Linked DNA regions of Homo sapiens: all the other regions are linked to region 1. Evidence: promoter capture Hi-C in human tissues and cell types (Jung and others, 2019). All regions are on one chromosome and are shown on one strand. Each heading gives the region's core, a stretch centred on a gene start or on the middle of the fragment in contact. The rest is flanking DNA. Distances are from core to core; before and after follow the strand shown.

Evidence for each region. The method cuts DNA at HindIII sites, captures the fragments that hold promoters and counts their contacts. A contact is called where the count stands out against the background at its distance.
Region 2: a contact is called between a fragment that was not itself captured here and the fragment with the promoter of POMK in region 1, in 2 of the 25 tissues and cell types used here (mesendoderm cells and thymus).
Region 3: a fragment that was not itself captured here is called in contact with the fragment with the promoter of POMK in region 1 in 2 of the 25 tissues and cell types used here (mesendoderm cells and thymus).

Annotation. Positions count from the first base shown.
Region 1 is chr8:43,091,942-43,094,857 of GRCh38, reverse strand. It overlaps POMK (protein O-mannose kinase), which reads right to left and starts at 1,343. Exons shown (of 5, transcript NM_032237.5): 1 at 1,295-1,343. RefSeq lists a silencer at 1,106-1,315 and enhancers at 567-1,472, 1,473-2,379. The HindIII fragment of the contact is 5,704 bases long and covers 1-2,916 here.
Region 2 is chr8:43,612,514-43,615,522 of GRCh38, reverse strand. No RefSeq gene overlaps it. Among named protein-coding and RNA genes, the nearest start is that of POTEA, 320 kb to the right of the region's middle. The HindIII fragment of the contact is 4,516 bases long and covers 1-3,009 here.
Region 3 is chr8:43,873,098-43,876,298 of GRCh38, reverse strand. No RefSeq gene overlaps it. Among named protein-coding and RNA genes, the nearest start is that of POTEA, 580 kb to the right of the region's middle. The HindIII fragment of the contact is 6,113 bases long and covers 1-3,201 here.

The sequences.
Region 1 (2,916 bases), core at 94-2,593:
AGGCACGACTGAAATGCAAAGCATTTCTGACACTGATAGGAAGGCTTATTGATAGAGAAAGGCTTGGGACCCACTGCTCCACATTTACAGCTTAAAAAGAAAAGAAAAGCAAAGGGACAAAACTAGTTTTTACCGACTTACAAGATATTTTCTACAACTAGGGAAGACACAGAGTAATGTCATCCAATACAGTTTAGAGTAGAATTCCATTGCGCCAATAAAGCACAAGGTACATTAAGAGGATTATTTTAAATATTCTGAACGCTTATTTAGCCTTAAGGTTCTATAGCAAAGGCAAAGGGTGGCAAAGACAAGATTATGCAACAAAACAGCGAAATTTTGCTTTCTAAAAAAAAGAGAATATGATTACACTTAACACCTCCTGGCAACAATGATCTCGTGCAGAATAAACACCCAAAGGCAAAGAGCTGAGACAGAGTCCTCGGTCCTTTCTGGTTTTTTTGTTTTTTGTTTTGTTTTGGTTTGGTTTGGTTTTTGTTTTTTTAAACAGAGACAGCCTCTGCCGGACCCAGTAGCTCACGCCTGTAATCCCAGCACTTTGGGAGGCAGAGGCGGGCGGATCACCTGAGGTCAGGCGTTCGAGACCAGCCTGACCAACATGGGGAAACCCCGTTTCTACTAAAAATACAAAAATTAGCCGGGCGTGGTGGCGGACGCCTGTAATCCCAGGAGCCAAGACCGCGCCACTACACTCCAGCCTGGGCGACAGAGCGAGACTCCGTCTCAAATAATAATAATAATGATAAAGTAATAATAATAGAAACAGCCTCTCACTCTGGCCCCCAGGCTGAAGTGCAGTGGCGCGATTTCGGCTCACTGAAACCTCCGCCCCCGCCGGGTTCAAGCATTCTCCCGCCTCAGCCTCCGGAGTAGATAAGACTATAGGCGGCGCCACCGCGCCCGGCTAAGTGCTTTTTTACGGAGACAGAAGTTCCGCCATGTTGCCCAGGCTGCTCTCGCCTGAGCTCACGCGATCCTCCCGCCTCGGCCTCCCAAAGCGCTGGGATTACAGGCTGGAGCCACCTCGCCGGGCCCTTCTCTGGTTCTTTAACGTCCCGCTACCGCGCAGGGGTGGACGCGGAGATAGGGGCTGGGCGCGGTGGACACGGCCGCTCAGGCCCAGCGCAGCCTCCTAGGGAGCCTCCGGACAGGCCGCGGGCAGGCGGCCGGGGCTGCGGGGGGTGCGGCCCAGGCCACGTACAGGGTCCCCCGGGAAACCCAGCTGCACGCCCCCTCGCCCCTTCGCCCTCTCACCCCTCGCCGCAGCACCTACCTGCAGCCCAAGCCTCTGCGGCTCCTGCCACCCCGGGCCAGCACGCACTGGGCCTACTGCGCTTGCGCGTTCGGAAGCGCGTCCTGGGCGGGTGAGCGTGGCGCTGCTGCCCCCTGGCGTCCTCCTCCGGCCGTGCACTGAAGCCGGAGCGAACGCCGCGGCGGTACCAGCGCGCACCTACCCAGTCTCCCTGTCTGGCTTCTGCTTCCCTAACTTGGGAGAACGATTTTGTGTTGACCGACTATTGCTTCAGCCTGGAGCCAGGCTCATGCAGAGCAGCTGTCAGATCTAGACGCACTGCGAGGCCTTCCAAAGCGTAGTCCTCAGACCCGCGGCATCTGCAGGGACCTTGCTGGAAAGGCTGATTCCCAGCTCCGGCCCAGACCCGCCACTCGGGGACCCAGATGCCTGAAGTTGGACAATCGCTCTGTAAAAGAAACTGTGGGGCTTAGCCTAGACGCAGTAAAGCTGAGCTGCACACATCAAGCGCAGCAGACAAGACCTTGGCAAGCCTCCGCGGAGGGGCAGGACTGGGCAAAGGCGGGGAAGTCCGTCGAGGGCCGGCCAGGAGCCCTGCCGGGAGCCCAACACGCACTCGGGCGCTTGCTCCGGGAAACCGAAAGGGAGGCTTGCAGCATCGAAGTCAGCTGGGTCATGGAACGTCTAGGTTGTGTACATCGGAAGCGTTAGCTGCTTCTACACTGACACACTGCGAAAGTCCAGAATCAAGACAGTAACATGGTGTGGGTTAAAAAAACTGAGCCGGTACTAGCTATCCAAACAGTATTAAAATTAACAGAAACGTTTGCCTATCACATGGACAAACAGCGGTAATACCTCCTGTCGTTACAGTAGAGTCTGAAAGTTTCCTCACACATACAAGTGAGTGTAAATTGGAATTCCTCCTACGTGCCCTAGCAAATCCATTTCTAGGAATTTATCCTTCAGAAATAACGTCTGTGGCCGGGCGCCGTGGCTCATGCCTGTAATCCCAGGACTTTGGGAGGCCGAGGTGGGCGGATCACGAGGTCAGGAGACCGAGACCATCCTGGATAACACGGTGAAACCCCGTCTCTACTAAAAATACAAAAAATTAGCCGGGCATGGTGGCGGGCGTGAGAATGGCGTGAACCCGGGAGGCGGAGCTTGCAGTGAGCCGAGATCGCGCCACTGTACTCCAGCCTGGGTGACAGAGCGAGACTCCGTCTCAAAAAAAAAAAAAAAAAAAAAGAAAAAGAAATAATATGTCTGCAAGATGTATGCACAAGAGATCTTGCTGAAGCATTGCTGATAAAAGATATTTATAATAGAGAAAAAAAGAAACCTGAATGTATAACAATAGGGGTTTCTGAAAGAAATTATATTACATCCACATAGCCATGAAAAATACTAACGGGTGCACAGTTTCAGTGTGAGAAGATGGTAAAGTCCTGGAGATGGATGGGGGTGATGGTTGCACAACAGTGTGAATATACACCAATAAATTGGGTGGAGGCCGAGAGCTCGGGGCCGTGAGCAAGCCTCCAACGCTCCGGTCCCCCGGACCCGCCTTTTAAACTCTTATTCTAATTCCTTTGTCTTCGCTGGACTCGGGGTACCCGCCGGGTGGTGTGGGGCTGGTT
Region 2 (3,009 bases), core at 286-2,785, 520 kb before region 1:
CTACATCTAAAGTGTTTCCAACCTGCTGAATCAAAATAAAAGTTTAAATCTGTGAGGTGAATCCAGACATCACAAAGCAGTTTCACAGATAGATTCCTTCTAGTTTTTATCCGGGGATATTCACTTTTCCACCATAGGTCTCAATGGGTTCCCAAATGTCCCTTCACAGATTCTACAAATAGAGTGTTTCCAACTGCTGAATCAAAGGAAATGTTTAACTCTGTGAGATGAACCCACACATCACAAAGCAGTGACACAGATACCTTCCTTCTAGTTTTTATTTGAGATATTCTTTTTTCACCATAGGCCTCAATAGGCTTGTAAATGTCAATTTGCAGATTGTACCAAAAGATTTTTACCAACCCACTGAATTAAAAGAGAGGTTTAACTGTGTGAGGTGAATCCAAACATCACAAAGCATTTCCACAGATAGCTTCTTTCTAATTTTTATCTGGGGATAATCAGATTTTCACCACAGGTCTCAGTGTGCTCCCAAATGTTTCTACAGAGTGCTTCCAACCTGCTGAATCAAAAGAAATGTTTAACTCTGTCAGTTGAATCCACACATCACAAAGCAGTTTCTCAGATAGCTTGTTTCTACTTTTTAAATAGAGACATTCCATTTTTAAAAAACATGCAACAAAGGGCTTTCAAATGCTCCTTTGTAGATTCTATGAAAAAAGTGTTTCCAAGCCACTGAATCAATAGAAATGTTTAACTCTGTGAGATGAATCCACCCATTAGAGCACAGTTTCACAAATAGCTTCTTTCTGGTTTTTATGTGGGGATATTTGGTTTTTCATTACAGGCCTCAATGTGCTCCCAAATGACCCCTCACAAATTGTACAAAAAGAATGCTTTTATCTGGCAATATTCGATTTTTCACCATACACCTCAATGGGCTTCCAAATGTCCCTTCGCAGATTCAACAAAAACAGTGTTTCCAACCTGCTGAATCAAAGCATATGTTAACTTGGTGAGATGAATGTGCAAATCAAAATGCAGTTTCACAGATTCTTTCTAGTTTTTTTCTGGGAACATTCGGTTTTTCACCATAGGCCTCAGTGGGCTCTTAAATGTCAATTTGCAGATTCTACAAAAATAGTGTTTCCAACCTGCTGAATCAACAGAAAGGTTTAACTCTGTGAGATGAATGCACACATCACAAAGCAGTTTCACAGATAACTTCTTACTAGTTTTTATCTGGGGATGTTTGGTTTTTCACCATAGGCCTCAATGGGCTCCTAAATGTAAATTTGCATATTCTACAAATAGATTGTGTCCAACCTGCTGAATAAAAAGAAAGGTTTATTTTTCTGTGGTGAATCCACACATCACCACTATAAAAAGAGTGTTTCCAACCTTCTGAATTAAAAGCAAGGTTTAACTCTTTGATATGAATTTACACATCACAAAGCAGTTTCACTGACAGCTTCTTTCTAGTTTTTTTTCTGTTACTCACCATTGGTCTCAATGGGCTCCCCAGTGTTCCTATGCAGATTCTACAAAAGAATGTTTCAAACCTGCTAAATCAAAAGAAAGATTTAACTCAAGGAGATGAATTCACACATCACAAAGCAGTTTCACAGATAGCATCTTTCTAGTTTCTATCTGGGCATATTCAGTTTTTCATCATAGAATTCAATGGGATCCCTAATGTCTTTTTGCAGATTCTATAAAAAGTGTGTTTCCAACCTGTTGAATCAAAAGAAAGGTTTAACTCTGTGAGATGAATCTATACATCACAAAGCAGTTTCACAGATAGCTTCTTTGTAGTTTTTATGTGGGGTTATTCAGTGTTTCACCAAAGGCCTCAGTGGGCTCCTAAACGATTCTTCACAGATTCTACAAAAAAAGTTTCCAACCTGCTGAATCAAAAGAAAGGTTTATCTCTGTGAGATGAACGCACACATCACAAAGCACTTTCACAGGTAGGTTTTTTCTACTGTTTCTCTGGGGATATTCAATTTTTCACCATAAGCATTATTTGGCTCCCAGTTGTCCATTCATAGATTCTAAAAAAAGAGTGTTTCCAACTTGTGGAATGAAAAGAAAGGTTTAATTCTGTGAGAGAAACCCACACATCACAAAGCACTTTCAAATACTGCTTCTTTCTAGTTGTTATCTGGGGATATTCAGTTTTTCACCATAGGTCTCAATGGGCTATCAAATGTCCCTTTGCAGATTTTACAAAAAGTTTTTCCAACTTGCTGAATTTAAATAAAAGTTTATCTCTGTGAGATGAATCGACACATCACAAAGCAATTTCACCAATACTTTTCTACCAGTTTTTTATGAGGATATTTTGTTTTTCAACATAGGCCTCAATGGGCACCAAATTGTCCCTCTGTAGATTCTACAAAAAGAGTGTTTGCAACCTACTGAAACAAAAGAAAGGTTTAACTATGTGAGACGAATGCACACGTTGCAAAGCAGTTTAACTGATAGCTTCTTTCTCATTTTTATCTGGAGATATTTTGTTTTTCACCACAGTCCTCATTAGGTTCCCAAATATCCCTTCACAGATTCTACAAAAAGAGTATTTCTAACATGCTGAATCAAAAGAAAGGTTTAACTCTGTCACATGAAGCCACACATCACAAAGCAGTTTCACAGATGGCTTCTTTCTAATTTTCCTCTGGGGATATTGTTTTTTTCACCCTAAGCTTTAATGGGCCCCCATTGTCCCTTCACAGATTCTACAAAAAGAGTGTTTCCAAACATTCGAATCAAAAGAAAGTTTTAATCTGAGATGAATCCACACATCTCAAACCACTTTCACAGACAGCTTCTTTCTAGTTGTTATCTGGGGATATTCAGTTTTTCACCATTGGCCTCAAAGGGCTCCCAAATGTCCCTTCACAGATTCTACAAAAAGAGTGTTTCCAACCTGCTGAATCAAAAGAAAGGTTTAACTCTGTAGATGATTGATACATCACAAAGCAGCTTCACAGACAGCTTCTTTGTAGTTTTTCTCTGGGTATAATCGGTTTTTCACCATAGGCCTCA
Region 3 (3,201 bases), core at 25-2,524, 780 kb before region 1:
TCCAGGAGGTTGAAGACACTCCTTTTGGAGAATCTATGAAGAAACATTTGGGAGCCCTTTGAGGCCTATGAGGAAAAACAAAATATCCCCAGATAAAAACTGGAAAGAAGCAATCTGGGAAACTTCTTTGTGATGTGTGGATTCATCTCACAGAGTTAAACTTTTCTTTTGATTCAGGAGGTGGGAAACACTCCTTTTGGAGAATCTGTGAATGGACTTTGAGAGCCCATTGAGGCCTATGAGAATAAAGTGAAAACCCCAGGATAAAAACTACAAAGGACCTATCTGTGAAACTGCTTTGTGAGGTGTGAATTCTCAAAGAGTTAAACCTCTGTTTTGATTCAGCATATTGGAAATACTGTTTTTAAAGAACCTGCAAAGAAATATTTGGGAGCTCATTGAGGCCTATATGGAAAAACTGAATATACCCATATGAAAACTAGAAAGAGCTACTTGTGAAACTGTTTTGTGATGTGTAGATTCATCTCACAGACTTAAAACTATCTTTTGATTAAGCAGGTTGGAAACACTCTTTTTGTAGAATATGCAAAGGGACATTGAGGACTACGAGGAAAAACTGAATATCCTCATATAAAAACTAAAAATAATCTTTCAGTGATATTGCTTTGTGATGCGTGGATTCATCTCACAGAGTTAAGCATTTCTTTAGATTCAGCAGGTTGTAAACAGTCTTCTTGGGGAATCCTCAAAGGGACATTTGGAATCCCATTGAGGCCTATCTGGAAAAACTGAATATCCCTAGATAAAAACTAGGGAGAAGCTAGAACTCGTCACTGCTATATATCATGTCAAAAGACTCATGAGTTCTCCTTCACTCATAAATCCTTTGTCTCATCCCTTCCTAACCCTCCCATCTGCTCTAAGAAGAGAGAGCTTGTAAAACAATAAATTGGGTGGAGTCCAAGAGCTCTGGGCTGTGAGCAAGCCACTGATGCTCTGGTCTCCTGTACCTGCCTTTTCAATGCTTATTTTTTCTGTTTCTAATCCAAACAGATTTTACAAAAAGGGTGTTTCCAAGCTACTGAATGAAAAGAAAATTTAACACTGTGAGATGAATCCACATATCCCAAAGCAGTTCCACAGATAACTTTATTCTAATTTTTATCTGGGGATATTCAGTTTTTCTTCTAAGGTCTCTATGGCACCAAAATATCCCTATGCAGATCCTCCAAAAAGAGTGTTTTCAACCTGCTGAATCAAAAGAAAGGTTTAACTTTGTCAGATGAATCCACACATCACAAAGCAGTTTCACAGAAATCTTCTTTCTAGTTTCTATCTGGGGATATTCTGCTTTTCCCCATAGGCAACAATGTACTCCCTAATGTCCTTTCACAGGTTCTCCAAAAAGAGTGTTTCCAACCTGCTGAATCAAAGAAAGATTTAACTCCATGAAATAAAACCACACATGAAAAAGAAGTTTCACAGCTAGCTTCTTTCTTTATTGGGGGATATTTGCTTTCTCTCTGTAGACCTCAAAGGGCCCTCAAATGTTTGTTCACAGATTCTAAAAAGAGAGTGTTTCCAACCTGCTGAATCAAAAGAAAAATGTAGCTCCATGAAGTGAATTCACACATCACAAAGCAGTTTCAAAAATAGCTTCTTTCTGTTTTTTATCTTTGGACATTTGGTTTTTCCCCATAGGCCTCAATGGGTGCACAATTTTTTTTTCACAGATATCCAGAAATAGTGCTTTCAACCTGCTGAATCAGTAGAAACGTTTACCTTTGTGAGATGAATCTACACATCACAAAGCGTTTTCACAGAAAGCTTCTTTCTAGATTTATCTGGGGATATTCAGTTTTTCCCCATAGGTTTCAGTGGGGTCCCAAAAGTACCATGGCAGATTCTACAAAAAGAGTTTCCAGCCTGCTGGTTAAAACAAAGGTTTAACTATGTGAGATGAATCAACATATCACAAAGCAGTTTCACAGGTATCTTTATTCTAGTTTTTATCTGGGGATATTCTGTTTTTCCCCATTAGCCTCAATGGGCTCCCAAAAGTCCCTTCACAGATTTTCCAAGAATAGTGTTTCCAACCTGCTGAGTCAACTAAGAAATTTAACTATGAGATAGGAATGCAGACATCACAAAGCAGTTTCACACATTGCTTCTTTATGGTATTTATTCATGTATATTCATTTTTCCCCCGTGGTGATCAATGGGCTGCAAAATGTTCCTTTACACATTCTCCAAAAAAAAGTGTTTTCCTGCTGGGGAAGAAGAAAGATTTAACTCTGTGAGATTAATGCACATATCAAGAAGCAGTTCAACAGATAGCTTTTTTCTAGTTTTTATCTGGGGATATTCAGTTTTTCTCCTTAGGCCTCAATGGGTTCTGAACTGTTCCTTTTCAGATTCTCCAAAAAGAGATTTTACAACCTGCTGAATCAAAAGAAATGTTTAACTCTGTGAGATGAATCCTCACATCACAAAACAGTTTGACATATAGCTTCTATCTAGTTTTTACCTTGGGATAATTGATTTTTCTTCATAAGCCTCAAAGGGTTCCCAAAAGTCTCTTTGCAGATTCTTGAAAAATAGTGTTTGCAACCTGAGGAATAAAAGCTAGGATTAACTCTGTGAGTTGAATCCACACATCAGAAGAACTTACACAGGCAGCCTCTTTCTACCTTTTATCTTGGGATATTCTTTTTTTTCCCCGTTGGCCTCAAAAAGCTGCAAATGTCCCTTCACCGATTCTACAAAAAGTGTGTTTCCAACCTGCTGAATCAAAAGAAATGTTTACCTCTGAGAGATGAGTTCACACATCACAATGATATTTCACTGATAGCTTCTTTCTAGTTTTTATCTTGGGATAATACGTTTTTCCAAATGTCCTTTCATTGATACTCCAAAAAGAGTGTTTACAATCTTCCAAATCAAAAGAAAGATTCACATCTGTGAAATAAATCCACACATCACAAAGCAGTTTCACAGATAGATTCTTTGTAGGTTTTATCTGTGGATATTCCATTTTTATGCATAAGCCTCAATGGGCTTCCAAATATCCCTCTGCAGATTCTACAAAAAGTATGTTTCCAACCTGCTGAATCAGAAGAAAAATTTAACTCTGTGACATGAATCCACACATCACAAAGCAGTTTCACAGATAGCTTCCTTTTAGTTTTAATCTGGGGATATTCAGTTTTTCTCCTAGGCTTCCATGGGCTTCCAAATGTC